3 separate regions of the Homo sapiens genome follow, and all the other regions are linked to region 3. Evidence: promoter capture Hi-C in 16 types of primary human blood cells and fetal thymus (Javierre and others, 2016). All regions are on one chromosome and are shown on one strand. Each heading gives the region's core, a stretch centred on a gene start or on the middle of the fragment in contact. The rest is flanking DNA. Distances are from core to core; before and after follow the strand shown.

What was found. The method cuts DNA at HindIII sites, captures the fragments that hold promoters and counts their contacts. A CHiCAGO score of 5 or more calls a contact.
Region 1: a fragment that was not itself captured here is called in contact with the fragment with the promoter of FNDC9 in region 3 in 1 of 17 cell types (activated CD4 T cells); the score reaches 5.3 in activated CD4 T cells.
Region 2: a fragment that was not itself captured here is called in contact with the fragment with the promoter of FNDC9 in region 3 in 3 of 17 cell types (activated CD4 T cells, non-activated CD4 T cells and total CD8 T cells); the score reaches 6.8 in activated CD4 T cells.

Annotation. Positions count from the first base shown.
Region 1 is chr5:157,104,600-157,108,970 of GRCh38, forward strand. HAVCR2 (hepatitis A virus cellular receptor 2) reads right to left here. Exons shown (of 7, transcript NM_032782.5): 1 at 4,327-4,371; 2 at 2,028-2,363; 3 at 67-150. Among named protein-coding and RNA genes, the nearest start is that of HAVCR2, 2.3 kb to the right of the region's middle. RefSeq lists an enhancer at 4,232-4,371. The HindIII fragment of the contact is 4,025 bases long and covers 197-4,221 here.
Region 2 is chr5:157,132,063-157,137,007 of GRCh38, forward strand. No RefSeq gene overlaps it. Among named protein-coding and RNA genes, the nearest start is that of MED7, 8.3 kb to the right of the region's middle. The HindIII fragment of the contact is 3,920 bases long and covers 355-4,274 here.
Region 3 is chr5:157,343,217-157,348,174 of GRCh38, forward strand. FNDC9 (fibronectin type III domain containing 9) reads right to left here and starts at 2,461. Exons shown (of 2, transcript NM_001001343.4): 1 at 2,325-2,461; 2 at 1-327. The coding sequence starts at 320. The region is part of intron 23 of CYFIP2 (cytoplasmic FMR1 interacting protein 2); the gene reads left to right. The HindIII fragment of the contact is 2,139 bases long and covers 903-3,041 here.

The DNA.
Region 1 (4,371 bases), core at 959-3,458, 240 kb before region 3:
CACATTCAAAATCCTCTGAATTCAGAGCCAGCTAAAGATTCCCTCCTCTGCCCCATGCATAGTTACCTGGGCCATGTCCCCTGGTGGTAAGCATCCTTGGAAAGGCTGCAGTGAAGTCTCTCTGCCGAGTCGGTGCAGGGGTGACCTTGGCTAATGTCAGAAACAACATAAGGATGAAAATTATCTGAGAGCAGAAAGCTTATTTCAGGGAATCAAAGGGGCAGCAAGAAAAAAATGCGAAAGACAATTAAGAAAGAGAAATACACCCTCAGCTTCCAAACCTGCCTGGATACCTACGTTGAGAGTGTATCACACACTTCAAATGTTTGACAAAGGTAAGATGCAGTCATCATTGTTACATTCTGATTATTAATAGCGGAACTAACAGCCACACAAATGGCCATAATTACAGGTTGAAGACTCCTTATCTGAAATGCTTGAGATCAGAAATGTTTTAGATTTTGAATTTTTTTTTTTTTTTTGAAACGGAGTTTTGCTCTTGTTGCCCAGGCTGGAGTGCAATGGCATAATCTCGGCTCACTGCAACCTCCGCCTCCTGGGTTCAAGCAATTCTCCTGCCTCAGACTCCTGAGTAGCTGGGACTACAGGCATGTGCAACCACACCTGGCTAATTTTGTATTTTTAGTAGAGACAGGGTTTCTCCATGTTGGTCAGACTGGTCTCGAACTCCCGACCTCAGGTGATCCACCCACCTCAGCCTCCCAAAGTGCTGGGATTATAGGCATGAGCCACCACGCCCAGCCATGTTTTTATTTTTTTATTTTTTAGTATCTGCCTATACTTATGTTCCAATGAGCTTTTCCTTTGAATGTCATGTCAGTGTCCAAAAAGTTTTGGATTTTAGAGCATTTCAGATTTTGGTGCATTTTAGGTTTTAGATTTTCAGATTTGGGATGCCCAACCTATAAAGGCTTTTAATAAAATATTATCACATAAAATCCTTCTAATGGCCCACATGATCGGTATTATTGTCATATTTTATAGAAGAGGAGCTCACAGCGTTTCAATAACTTGCTCAGGATTATATAGCTAGTAAGAGGCAGAGTTAGATGTAAACTCAGCTCTATCTGGGCACAAAGTACATGTTATAGAAATCTTAAGTCTGTTCACCTCCCAGCATACATGCATAACCCAGCAGTTCACCATGCTGGCTGCACCTGGGGTAAAATCACCTGAGGTAGACTCTGTAAAAAGCTAATGCTTAGCATCTACCTCCAGAGATGCTGATTTCTCTGGTTTTTGGTAGTGGGGTTTTTTCTTCTGCTTTTTAAGAGATAGGGGTAGCCACAGTATATCAGCCAGGCTGGTCTCAAACTCCTGACCTCAAGTGATCCTCCTGCTTCAGCCTCTCAAAGTATTGGGATTATAGGCATGAGCCACTGTACCTGGCATCTATAGTTGTTTAAAAACTCTCTATGTGATTCTAATGAGAGTCAGGGTCTCTAACCACTGATCTAGGCCTTTCATCCCATCTATACATTCCACCCATGAGTTTTGGCTTTTCTTTTCTTTTCTTTTTTTTTTTTTGAGACAGAGTTTCACCCTTGTCAGCCAGGCTGGAGTACAATGGCGAGATCTTGGCTTACCACAACCTCCGACTCCCAGGTTCAAGTGATTCTCCTGCTTCAGCCCCCCAAGTAGCTAGAATTACAGGCTCCCGTAACCATGCCTGGCTAATTTTTTGTATTTTTAGTGGAGACAAGGTTTTACTATGTTGGCCAGGCTGGTCTCGAATTCCTGACCTCATGATCCACCGGCCTCAGCCTCCCAAAGTGCTGGGATTAGAGGTGTGAGCCACCACGCCCAGGCACACCCATGAGTTTTAAAACAGAGAGAAGGTGTTAAATATCACTGAGCATCACCAATGGGGCCTGTTAAACTTTAGGTCTTAGTGGCCCTCCTCCAGGGCTATAATTAGGGAAGTCAGAGATGAGAACAATCAGTACCTTTAATATGATCCACAGATAAATCTTATTCATAAAGATGGCATGCAAATGTCCACTCACCTGGTTTGATGACCAACTTCAGGTTAAATTTTTCATCATTCATTATGCCTGGGATTTGGATCCGGCAGCAGTAGATCCCACTGTCTGCTAGAGTCACATTCTCTATGGTCAGGGACACATCTCCTTTGCGGAAATCCCCATTTAGCCAGTATCTGGATGTCCAATAATTCACATCCCTTTCATCAGTCCTGAGCACCACGTTGCCACATTCAAACACAGGACAGGCTCCTTTGCCCCAGCAGACGGGCACGAGGTTCCCTGGGGCGGCTGGGGTGTAGAAGCAGGGCAGATAGGCATTCTGACCGACCTCCGCTCTGTATTCCACTTCTGAGGACCCTGCATAGAGAGAGAAGGAGAGCCAAGACTCAAGCGGTGAGTGAGGTTACTCCATTTCAGGAAAACTGCAAGCCATGTCTTACAGAATAAAGAGGAAGCTACTGCTGCAGTCCTGTTTGGAGGATGATTCGCTGTGACAATGCTTCTCAGATGTGAAGGCCATCAGAATCACTGGGAAGCCTTGCGAAAACACAGATTGCTGGGCTCAACTGCTAGAGTTCCTGACTCAGTTGGCCTGTGGTAGAGCCTGAGAACTTTTATTTCTAACAAGTTCTCAAGTGTTGCTGAAGTGGCTGGTCTCAGAACCTCACTTTCAGAAACACTGCCCTAGGAGAGAATTGTGGCCCAATTCTGTGAACACGGGAGAACAGGGCTGATGGAAACAGACAATCAGAAAATTAGTCATGGTCAGCCAGGAAACGGCCCGCCCATCTGGGCTACTTGCTTGTTCATCAACAAAGGGAGGCTCTCCTAACATACTTCTCTTTTTAAGCAGCAAGTGCACAGTAAATACAAACCCTTGGTTAAATAAGGATCTTGTGTATTTGAAACTACTCATGGAGTTGTTTTAAGGTTTAAAGTTGTGAAAAGAAATTAAATTTTGGGACCCCAAACTCATTCAGTCAAAGGGAAAAGTCAAGCTGGGAACTGGGTCACAGAAACCTGCCTCCTCTTTTTGATTCCTGAATAAGATGGCTACAGGATGAAAGGCTGCATACCTCCCCCATATTTTGCCCACAAGGAAATTCCTGGTCAGCTGTGCAATGCAGATTGATAGCTCATCTTTACCGGTGCGGTCACCCTGGCCAGACACAAATGCGTTATCTGATTGTTTCCCTACCCCATTTTGTCTGTGTTATCTAATGTAAAATGCAGATTCCCCATATTTTTCCTCTGCCCCCCCCCCTTTTTTATGTGAAAACTGAGTGCTTCTCAATATCCCACCTTGTCCCCTTTAAATCTGGAGCCCTCAAAATCATCTTCTGAGAAAGTCATAGACCTGTCTCTCAGGTGCCTCCTTAACTTTGGCAAACAAATCTCCTAAAATGATTGAGACTTGTCTCCTCATTTTCCTCAAATGACAAAGTTAATTCCATTAAAAAAAAACTATATATATTTTATATATGATAAAACATTCATTATATATTTTCTTTTGATTTTTTATGTCCCCTTTGTTTTCATATGACTCAACTACAGTAAAAACATTCAAACACTATCAAAGGTGTATGAAAAAGTGGCCGGGCACACGGTGGGTCACGCCTGTAATCCCAGCACTTTGGGAGGCTGAGATGGGCAGATTACTTGAGGCCATGAGTTTGAGACCAGCCTGACCAACATGGTAAAACCCTGTCTCTACTAAAAATTAAAAACATTAGCTGGGTGTGGTGGTGCACGCCTGTGATCCCAGCTACTCCGGTGCCTAAGGCAGGAGAATCACTTGAACCTGGGAGGCGGAGATTGCAGTGAGCCAAAATGGTGCCACCACTGCACTCCAGCCTGGGCAATAGAGTGAGACTCCATCTCAATTGAAAAAAAGAAAAAGAAAGAAAAGAAAAAGAAAAAAAGGAAAGAAAAGAAAAGAAAAATATGCCTTACTCTCCCAACTCTTTACCATTCCCTGGTTCCTTTTCCTAGAGCTTATACATTAAGAAATGTCCACATATTCCTGCTCCCCGACAATGCACACACACAAATAGAAGCCTAATATATGCATTATTCTGCAACTTTTTTTCTTTAATAACATTATAATTTTGAGACATTCTATACCAGTATGTTTTGTCAGACTCACTGTTTGTATCATGATTATATCACATTTATTTACCCACTCCCTCATCGACGGACATTTAGGTTGCTTCCAAGCTTTTGCTATTACAAACAACATTACAATGGCCATCCTTGTATCTCTCCCTTGTCCTCTGTACAGCACCATTATGTCATTGTAAATATCCATGCCGAGACTTACTTGTAAGTAGTAGCAGCAGCAGCAGCAGGACACAGTCAAAGGGAA
Region 2 (4,945 bases), core at 1,065-3,564, 210 kb before region 3:
ACGTATCTAATGATTCAATTTAATTCTGACACTAACTACCCAGAGTTAAGTTAGGGTAAGCAGTACCTCTGAGTTTCTTCATTTTAGTCTACTCTGCAACCAGCTACAGCTCTTAAATCTGAGGTAAGAGTGCCACTTACTGGTAGCCTCATCACAACGCAACTTGAAACCCGCTCACAAATTTAATTCTAAGTGCCAGTGGCATGCAAAAGAAAAAAGGCTCAGTACGGTATGCATATATTAAAACATTACATTGTACCTCACAAATAAATAATTTGTCAATTAAAAATAAAATAAAACTTAAGTGCTTTGTAGCCATTCTCCTATTTAATCCTTGGATTAATCCTATGAAGAAGCTTCTGTAATTTATATTTCTGTGATTTTTTATTAGTAGCTTTGTGAAAACACTCCAAAGTTTAGAATCCAATTACCTACATCATAGCCCACCAGCCAAATCCAGCCTGCTGTCTGATTTTGTACTCTCACATCTAAGAATAATTGTACATGCTAAATAGTTGGAAAAAATCAGAATAATTCACATATGAAAATTATTGAAATTCAAAATTCAATGTCCATATAGAAAGCTGTATTGGAACCGAGCTCTCTTGTTTATGCATTGTCTATGGCTGCTTTCGACCCACAGCAGTTGAGTAGCTGCAATGGAAACTGTACAGTCCTCAATGCCTAAAATATTTACTAATTGAATCTTTACAAAAGAGTTTGCCAATTCCTGACCTAGATTCCAACCTGAGCAAACCTAAACTCTAATCCTCAATTTTCATTACTCATAAAATGGGGATAATACCTACTAAGAGTTTTTAGGAAGATTAGAATTATAAGCACAGAATCTCCTTAAGATACTCATAGAAGTCTAAGCTAAGACATAAGCACCTTAATATGTTCAAAGGGAACTCATAGTTTCCATCTATAAATCTGTTCAGCCCAGTATCAAGTAGTATTTGCAAGCATGGATTTTAGGGTCAAAATATTGGCTCCACTCTTGGTTTCGCTACTTACTTACCTACGTGACTTAGTAACAACATGAGGGAATGGAGAGGCAATGAAGTATGAAGGTTGAGTGTTCAGGCTTGGAAAACTAGAATGCCTAGTTTCCATCCTGGCTTTGCCACCCACTAGTCAGTTAACCTTGGGTAAATTACATAACTTCTCTGAGCCTCCACTTCCACATCTGAAATATGAGTGTAAAAAGAATACTGATTTCATTCAGTAGTTGTAAGGCTAAAATGACTTTATTTATACAAAGAGATTAAAACATTGCCAGCAACTTACAGCCATAAATACCATCAGATTTAGAAGGTTCTTCACAGGATTGTTCTAAGGATTAAATAAGAGAACAGCTACAAAGCACTTAGCACCATTTGCAGTACTTAGAAATCTATCAGAGTACAGCTAGTACCCTTCCTACTGATTCTCTGTATTTTAGTAAAATCTGATGAGAAATCAATTGCAAACATAATTTCTCATCAGATTTCAGATAAAAACCCAATTCCTTCCCTTGGTTCTCTAAATCATGCACATCTGTCCTCCACCTGCTTCTGAAGCTCCAACCTCCTCCCTCACCATATTGCAGCCATAGTAGCCTTTCTCATCCAAATTATGCCAACTTTCTATCTCCTCATGAGATATTTGCACCTGCCGTTCCCAGTAACCTCAGGGCTCAGTGCATGAGTTGAAGCTGCCTTTCTTTATGTTTTTGAGACATGGTCTCACTCTGTCACTCAAGCTGGAGTGCAGTGGCATGACTGTGGCTCACTGCAGCCTTGACCTCCTGGACTCCAGTGTCCCTTCTACTTCAGCCTCTGGAATGGCTGGAACCCGTCATGTGCCATCACATCCAGCGAATTTTTAAATATTTTTGTAGAGATGGGGTCTCCCTATGTTGCCCAGGCTGGTCTCGAACTCGTGGACTCAAGTGATACTCCTGCCTCAGTTTCTCAGTGATGGGATCACAAGTGTGAGTCACCGTGCCTAGCAAAGTTGCCTTCTAAATTCCTTAACAAATGTGAGGTTAGGCATGGTGGCTCACACCTGTAATCCCAGCACTTCGGGAGGCTGGAGGATTACTTGAGCTCAGGAGTTTGAAACCAACCTGGGCAACATAGTGAGACCTCATCTCTACTTAAAAAGAAAAAAAAAGTTTTAGGCCGGGCATGGTGGCTCACGCCTGTAATCCCAGCACTTTGGGAGGCCAAGGCAGGTGGATCACGAGGTCAGGAGATCGAGGCCATCCTGGTCAACATGGTGAAACCTCTTCTCTACTAAAAATACAAAACTTAGCTGGGCATGGTGGTGCACGCCTGTAGTCCCAGCTACTCGGGAGGCTGAGGCAGGAGAATCACTTGAACCAGGGAGTTGCAGGTTGCAGTGAGCCAAGATTGCGCCACTGCACTCCAGCCTGGTGACAGAGTGAGACTCCATCTCAAAAAAAAAAAAAAAGTTTTAAAAGACAAAAAAAAATGTACACATTCCTTGAAAAGGGAAGATAATGTGGACAAGGTGCTTTGAACAGGCAATAGGAACATAACTGGAAGCAAGATTCTTCTGAAGGTGCTGTAATGGCTGAGTGGTTAAGACACAAACTTATCACCTTCAAAAATTAACTCGTCTTATTATCTTTCTTACATTTTCCTTCGCCCTTCCCACACATCCAACAGTTAAACTAGTATCAGGCAGAGTGCAGACCACAGTAAGTATTCATCAAATGAATATCATGAATAAATGAATAGCTGGGGAAAAACTACTCTCATAAAGGGAATACAAATTTGTACAATCCGTTTATGTTTGTTATTTATATTAAGTTCACATGTGCCTGATTTGTAGTAGATCTCTCGTTATCGTTAGCTCAGCACCGCTTCCTTCCTCTGAGAGACAGACTGACTCTTCCATAAATAGACATAGCGGGGACTGTGAAATTCTTATGGGATCCAAGTCCCAGTTGATTTGCCCAGTTGCAATCAAGTATACAACCCCTAATTCCTCATGTCTAGCTCGTTAATTAACCTCCCCTCATTTTTTTTAAGTTTGCATTTGAGAGGGAACTCCCAGACAGTGGTAAACATAGAAATACTTAACCCTTAGGAACTGTCAGCTGCCATGTTCTCCACCTACATCATTAAAGAAGTTCATCTGTAAAGAGAATGAAGCTAACAGGAAAGATGGTCTCCAGGGCTACTAACTTAAAACTTCATCCACTTTCTGACCTTCTCATGGTTTATATATTCAACTTATCCTTCAATCAACATATCCCATATCCTTTCTTTTTTTAATTAAATTGTAAGAGAGAGAAGGTCTCACTATGTTGCCCCCATTGGTCTCAAATTCCTGAGCTCAAGTGATCCTCTCACATCAACCTCCCAAAGCACTAGGATTATAAGTGTGAGCCACCGTACCCAGCCCATACCCCATATCCTTTATATAAATTCATCTTTTTGCTTAAATTAGTTCAAGTAGGGTTTTTGTCAGCAGTAACAGAGCACTGATTAATGCAACATTCTGTAACCACTGCACAAGAGAATCATCTTCTGATTTCTTAAAACCAATGCTAGTACCCCAGTCCAAAAAATGAAATCAGAATCTCCGCAGTGTGGGACCTGGGCATTAGTCATTTCAAAAGCTGCTTAAAAAGGTGATCCTTCCAGATATTTCACTTCAATGAATCAATCTTTCAAGAATATTCATTATAAGTAGGTGTGCAGAGATATATTTTAACACAAGATTAAAAAGACCTTATATAAGGCCACTAGAGCTTTTTTTTCATTCCACTCTAATAGCAAGAGTTCATATCAGAACACTTTAGGAATTTATGTCAGGTCCTAGTCACAGACCTGCAAGATCAGATCCTCCCCAATGGCATTTTTTTTTCTAATTTGTTGTAGAGACACGGTCTCACTATGTTGCCTAGGCTAGTCTCAAACTCCTGACCTAAAACCATCCTCCTACCTCAGCCTCCCAAAGTGCTGGGATTACAGGCATAAGCCACTGTGCCTGGCCCCCCAGTGGCATTTTAATCCCTCAACGCCCCTCCCCCCAACACACACACGTTCATATATAAGTAGTGTTGTGGCTCTTATGTGATTCTGTTTTTTACATGCAAAGATTTTCAAAGTGGCCAAAAACTGGTTTTGCACCTCAACCCAACACCTTCCTCAAGGTTCTCAGAGTCAAAGAAAGAGAATTTTCTTTGGAGAGTTGTTCAAGTGCTAAGCAATTTCCACCTTTCTCCCTCACAAGGTGATGCTCCCTACTTCAATTTAAGCTTGAGAGCCTGAACTATGTCCTCTGGAGTCTCTGAGGCCCAAAGGTCTATACCAAACACATTACGTACCAGAAAAAAACAAAAGTTGAGACTAGCCAACCAACTGCCTATCTGATAAAGAAGTGTCTACCTAGGGATAACTTACAGTCCCTGGATCTGTGAAAGCACAGCATGCACATTTCATAGAGAACTGACCTATAGTCATACATATATACATACATACACATATATATATATATTTTAGACAGAGTTTTGCTGTCACCCAGGCTGGAGTGCAGTGGCACGATCTCGGCTCACTGCAACCTCCACCCCTTGGGTTCAAGGAATTCTCGTGCCTCAGCCTCCCGAGTAGCTGGGATTACAGGCGCCTGCCACTATGCCCGGCTAATTTTTGTATTTTTAGTACAGACGGGGTTTTGCCATGTTGGCCAGGCTGGTATCAAACTCCTGACCTCAAGCAATCCACCCACCTCAGCCTCCCAAAGTGCTAGGATTACAGGCATGAGCCACTGCGCCAGGCCCCTTATAATCATTTTAATGTGAACTTTGCTAGCTCTAGGACCAATGAAAGTTTAAGTGAGCAAATCCCTATGCTAGAAACCAGGGGCTAAGGAAGAAATAAAAAAGTAGACATCTGGGGAAAGGCATTGCCTCTCAATGGTTCTTTTT
Region 3 (4,958 bases), core at 1,211-3,710:
ACCAGGGAGCTTCCAGGAGCCAGCGGACTCTTATCCAGGGTGTGGAACATGGTGCAGTAGTGCCTGTAAGGGAAGGCAGCCTTCTTACAGCTGATGCACAGGAAGTAGAGAGTGGAAGGGGCAAGATGTTCCAGCACCACGGAGCTGATCGTTCGAGGCACCTTCTCCTCGTGGTGGAAGCTGTAGCGAAGATAGCCAGAGAAGATGCTGTTCCAGTTGGGCCTGTACATAATATGGTAATAGTCCTCCAGGCAGGGCTCCGAGGACGACCAGGAGATGATGGCTCCTGTATAAGAAATGTTCCCCACCTCGATGTTCATCCCGATTCTGGAACCAGAATCAAAGTGAAGAGTGACATCCCCTGATTTAAGTATGTATTTATCATAATCATAGCCACCATTTATTGCACATTTGAGACGGGCACTCATGTTGCCCTCATCTTACAGACAAAGAAATGGAGGCCGAGAGGTTCTGTTATTTAGGCATAGCGAAAAAGTGGCAGGACAAAAGTTAAAACTGGGGCTGTCCCATGCCAAAGTTCAGGCCTAAGAACAGATGCACCCATGCAATCCCAGCCACATCCCACCCTAGCTGAGATCCTTCAGATAACAAAGGGGATTTTCTTAAGGGGATTGTTCTCATCCCCTTAAGAAAAAAGAAGAAAAGGTAAGGAGAAATCAGTAGAACCTCAGAGGCTCCACCTTTATTCTCAGGTCTGTGACCTCCCCTCAGGCAATTGATTCACCTCAATTTTCCTTCTTGACCTCCTGTTTCTGCTCCAAGTACTGTGAGCTCAGTGATCTAGAACATTCTGCCCACTGCTTTTTTTAGCCTCCTGGTTCTGTTGCCCATGGTGAGTGGAAATTCGCTTCGTCACTCTTTGGCAGCTGATCTCACCCCAAAGCTTCTGCTCTTGTTTTGTTTGTTTGTTTTTTCAAAGCCAGCGGTACCAGGAAATTTATTTTATGGGTGAAGATAATCAGCCCCTAATATCAGCATAACTACCACTATTTAATTCTGCTGTTATTATGAATGTTAATCATGGTAATAACCACTCACAGTAAGTGGTTGCTATGTCACTTGTCATGCTAGATGATTCACAGGCAGTAATTAATTTCCTTTATTCTTCATCACATCCTCTGAGCTAGATTCCCATTTTACGGATGAGCAACCTGATGTCACACCGCTAATACGTAGAAAAAGGACTTAGTGCCGCCTAACCACTACATTTCCTAATGCAAGGCTGCCGGGTTTAGTTACAGACGTTATCGCAAAATGAGGTGCCAGGACTGAGACCCAGTTGCTGTTTTTCCAGACAAATCAAATGAGCCCTCTTTAGATTGCCAGGCCCCGCTTTGATAAGAGAGAGCCATCTTCAAGTATTTTAGTTTCTCTCATGCAGTTCCCTCTACTGATTGCCCCTGATCAGAAATACAGAGACAGTCATAGTCAGCCTACGCATATTCACATAACAGTCTCACCCTGCTTTGTCTTCCGCCTCTCCTCCCTCACATGAAACCCCGTAGGTTTCATTTTGGGTTGCAGTGACATAGTAAACAGCTGTCAACTGGATTTTCGCCTGCATTGGATATTAAGCCAAACCAATGGCTATTATGACCTGCCTTTCTCTCACCTCTGCTTTCCCCCATCCTCTTGTGTTTGTGCCCATTTTCCTCCAGGAGTGGAGCTGCAGAAAGGTGCACAGCATTGAGTAGTTTCTTAATCCTTGTTTTTCTTCTGTAAGGGTAACAGTGAACTAAGATACTCAGGAAGGTGAATAGTGTCTTTCTATGTGGCTGAATATTTCTTCCCAGTAAATAGGGAACGAAAGGGATGAGACGGATGTGCTCAGACCCTTCCAGGGAAGGTCATCATGAAGGAGACCGAATGTTTATGTTTCCTAGCTTGGTGTCCTCTACACACTCATCCTCCCCACACCACACATCACTATAAATACACTTTCGACCACGATGAAAAGAGCTTAATTCATTATAGGCAGCCACCTGTGTAAAACCTTTCCATCAGGAGTAATCAGGAATCCTGTTTCTTGTCACGCACAAATGTTCTCTTGGCTTCCTATCTGCCACTAGCTGTCTGTACAGATGGAATTACCTCAGCAGACATTTTTAAGAGCTTTCTGTCAAGACGCAAATAGCATCCTCACCTTTTAGGACCAGGTCCGTCTCCCTTATTGATTTTTCTTCCTCTGTTTCCGTTTCTAAATTCTCCCCTATTTTTAACTATTCATTTGCCCGGCCCTTCTCCAAGCAGAGTGTGAAAAGAAGCCATTTCCATTTCCAAGAAGAGCCATCTATATGTCTTACCTGATGCTTGCAGCGTGTCTGGTTAGAGCTCTGCCCTCCGAGGTGCAGTAGATTAAAGCTGAGAGAATGGGGCCTTCTCCCTCCTCTGCTCTGGGCTTTCCGTGTTGTTTCTCTCAACACTGAGTAATCCCACTGCCGCCCCTAATGCTCACATTATTCATTTCTTCAGATCAGCATCATTCACCATGGCAACCAGCAGGCATCTGTACGCACGATGCTTTCAGGGACCAGCCTGGAAAGGCTTTTGCCCAGTGAGAGGAGCTCTCATTCCTTTGGCTGAAAAAGGGCAGATGATCCCCTGAAAACTGGTCCCCAGTGCAGTACTAATTCTTCTAACACTCCTACATTTTCTCCCCAGTTGGCTGATTATTATTTTCTTGTCCCATCTAGATCCTCTTTGGCCAATGGTTTTAAATGCAAAGATGCTTTTCTCAGTTATTCCACAACCAAAGCAGTAATATTCATCTTCATCCCCTCCCACCCCTACACTTCCCCATCCCAACTGCCTACCCCACCTCTTTATCTTCATCTTTCTTTATTCTTGACTCATGTGCCATTACATAGTTATATGGTACTGGTCAAGACCCTTTTATTTTTATTGTCTGAGTCTCAGTTCCACCATCATCTGTAAAGCTGTGGGCTTGGGCTACATCAGGATGGCAGATCAGAAGGCAGAAGACCTGAGCCCTATCCCTGCACAGCCCTGAACCCCTGTCAAGCTTGCTAAACCATCATGGCACTCTCACTGGGTTGAATAATGCCCCCCCAAAATACATATCCATCCAGAACCTTAGGATGTGACCTGATTTAGAAATAGAGCCTTCGTAGATATAACTAGTTAAGGATCTCAAGATGAAATCTTCCTGGATTTAAGGGTGAGCCCTAAATCCAATGACTAATGTCTTTGTAAGAGAAAAGACAGAGAGACTCAAGGGGAAGAAGCCAAGGGAAAACAGAGGCAGAGAGTGGAAGGATGCTGCCATCAGCCAAGGAACACCGGGAGCCATCAGCAGCTGGGAAGGCAAGGAAACATTCTCCCCTAGAGCCTTGGAGAGGGCATGGTTCTGCGAGAGCCTTGATTTCAGGCTTCTGGTCTCCAGAACTGTGAGAGAATAAATTTCTGTCATGTTAAGCTGCCACATTTATGGTAATTTGTGATAGCAACCCTAGGAATCTAATGCAGCACTGCTTCCAGCTGGGTGCAGAAACAGCCCCAGAGTTCCTCTGAACACAAGCGTCCCAAGAAACTGCTTCCCAATCAATCAGTTGGAGTTGACGCCAGAAATGGAAACTGTTTGCTACTCCTGGATTGAATCATCCCCAGCGTTCCTTTCCTTTCAAGAATCCAGACTGCTTGCCTCCCCTTTTCTCATAAAGGGCCGTCTGGCTTTGAGGTTCCATCCCTTCCTGTTCCTTTCAACCTTGTAAGAACCCATTGCCACCATTCTATTGAGATCACAGGGTGTGTCTGGAATAGAGGGTGGAAAGTAGCTCAGATAGATGTAGACCTGAATAAATTTATACACATTATATGTTTTTAAAAGTCAGCTTTTCTCTTCTTGGTTCTTGGCCAAAGTATCCAAGTTAACCCATGAAGGTCTCTTTCTGATTCACATTAATGATAAAAGGTTAGGAAGAAAGCCAGGCACAGCTGCAGTGGTGTGCACCTGTAGTCCCAGCCACTTGGGAGGCTGAGGTGGGAGGATCACTTGAGCTTAAGAGTTCCAGACCAGCCTGGGTATTATAGAAAGACTTTTTCCCTTGGAAAAAAAAAAAAAAAAGAGCCGCCTTGGTGAGTTGTGACCCTACCCTTGGCCAAAGGTCTCCGGGAGGCTTGGAGTCTTGGGAACTCGGGAACAAGCCAGTGTTCCTTGATCAGAAAGTTGCTCTGCAGCTTGCCCATGGCATTCAGTCTTCCCAGGCGCCTGTCTTAAATCTGCAGCAATGCATGCAGCATGTCTCTTCCCATGCGAGCACAGCCAGGTCAAGTGCTAATGGTGAGTCCCCACGGAGCATAAAAGCATCCTCCCCACAGAAAGGCCACGCAGCTGTTTGCAGATGCCCTTTGAAAAGGTTATTTTGCGGGGAGTAAAAATACCAGAGTTAAGGGGTCTGAGGAGGAACAAGGTAGAACTCAAGCCTTTTTCCACAGAAAATTGGAATTTATTTTTAATATTCTTGGATGACATTTTTAACCAAGAGAAATTTTCCACTGTGGAATTAAGATACTCAGAGAATGTGAGGCCTCCAAGCCCTCTTGTTTCACAGTCCTGGGAGAAGACATGGCATTCCTCAGACCGCTTGACTGATGAGTGGCAGAGCTGCCAGTGAAATGGGGTGGGGCCCCAGACTCGGAGGCGGAGGCCAGGGTTCATCCCGCTCCTCTGAGCTGTCGCCGCTCACCAGCAGCACCCAGAGGAGCCAGTGCAGCCGTTTGTGAAGGAGATAAAGTATCTGGGACACCTGCCCCAGGACATTACACCCCAGCCAGGCTCACACTTTCTCCATCATCAGGGACAATTCCTCCAGAGTCTGTGCAAGTTGTAGCCTCTTCGCTCTCAGGCCAGGTGAGCCCCAGCTAGTTGACATCAGTAGTAAATTACTGCTAGAGGAAATCAGCTAGGAGCAAGGTTC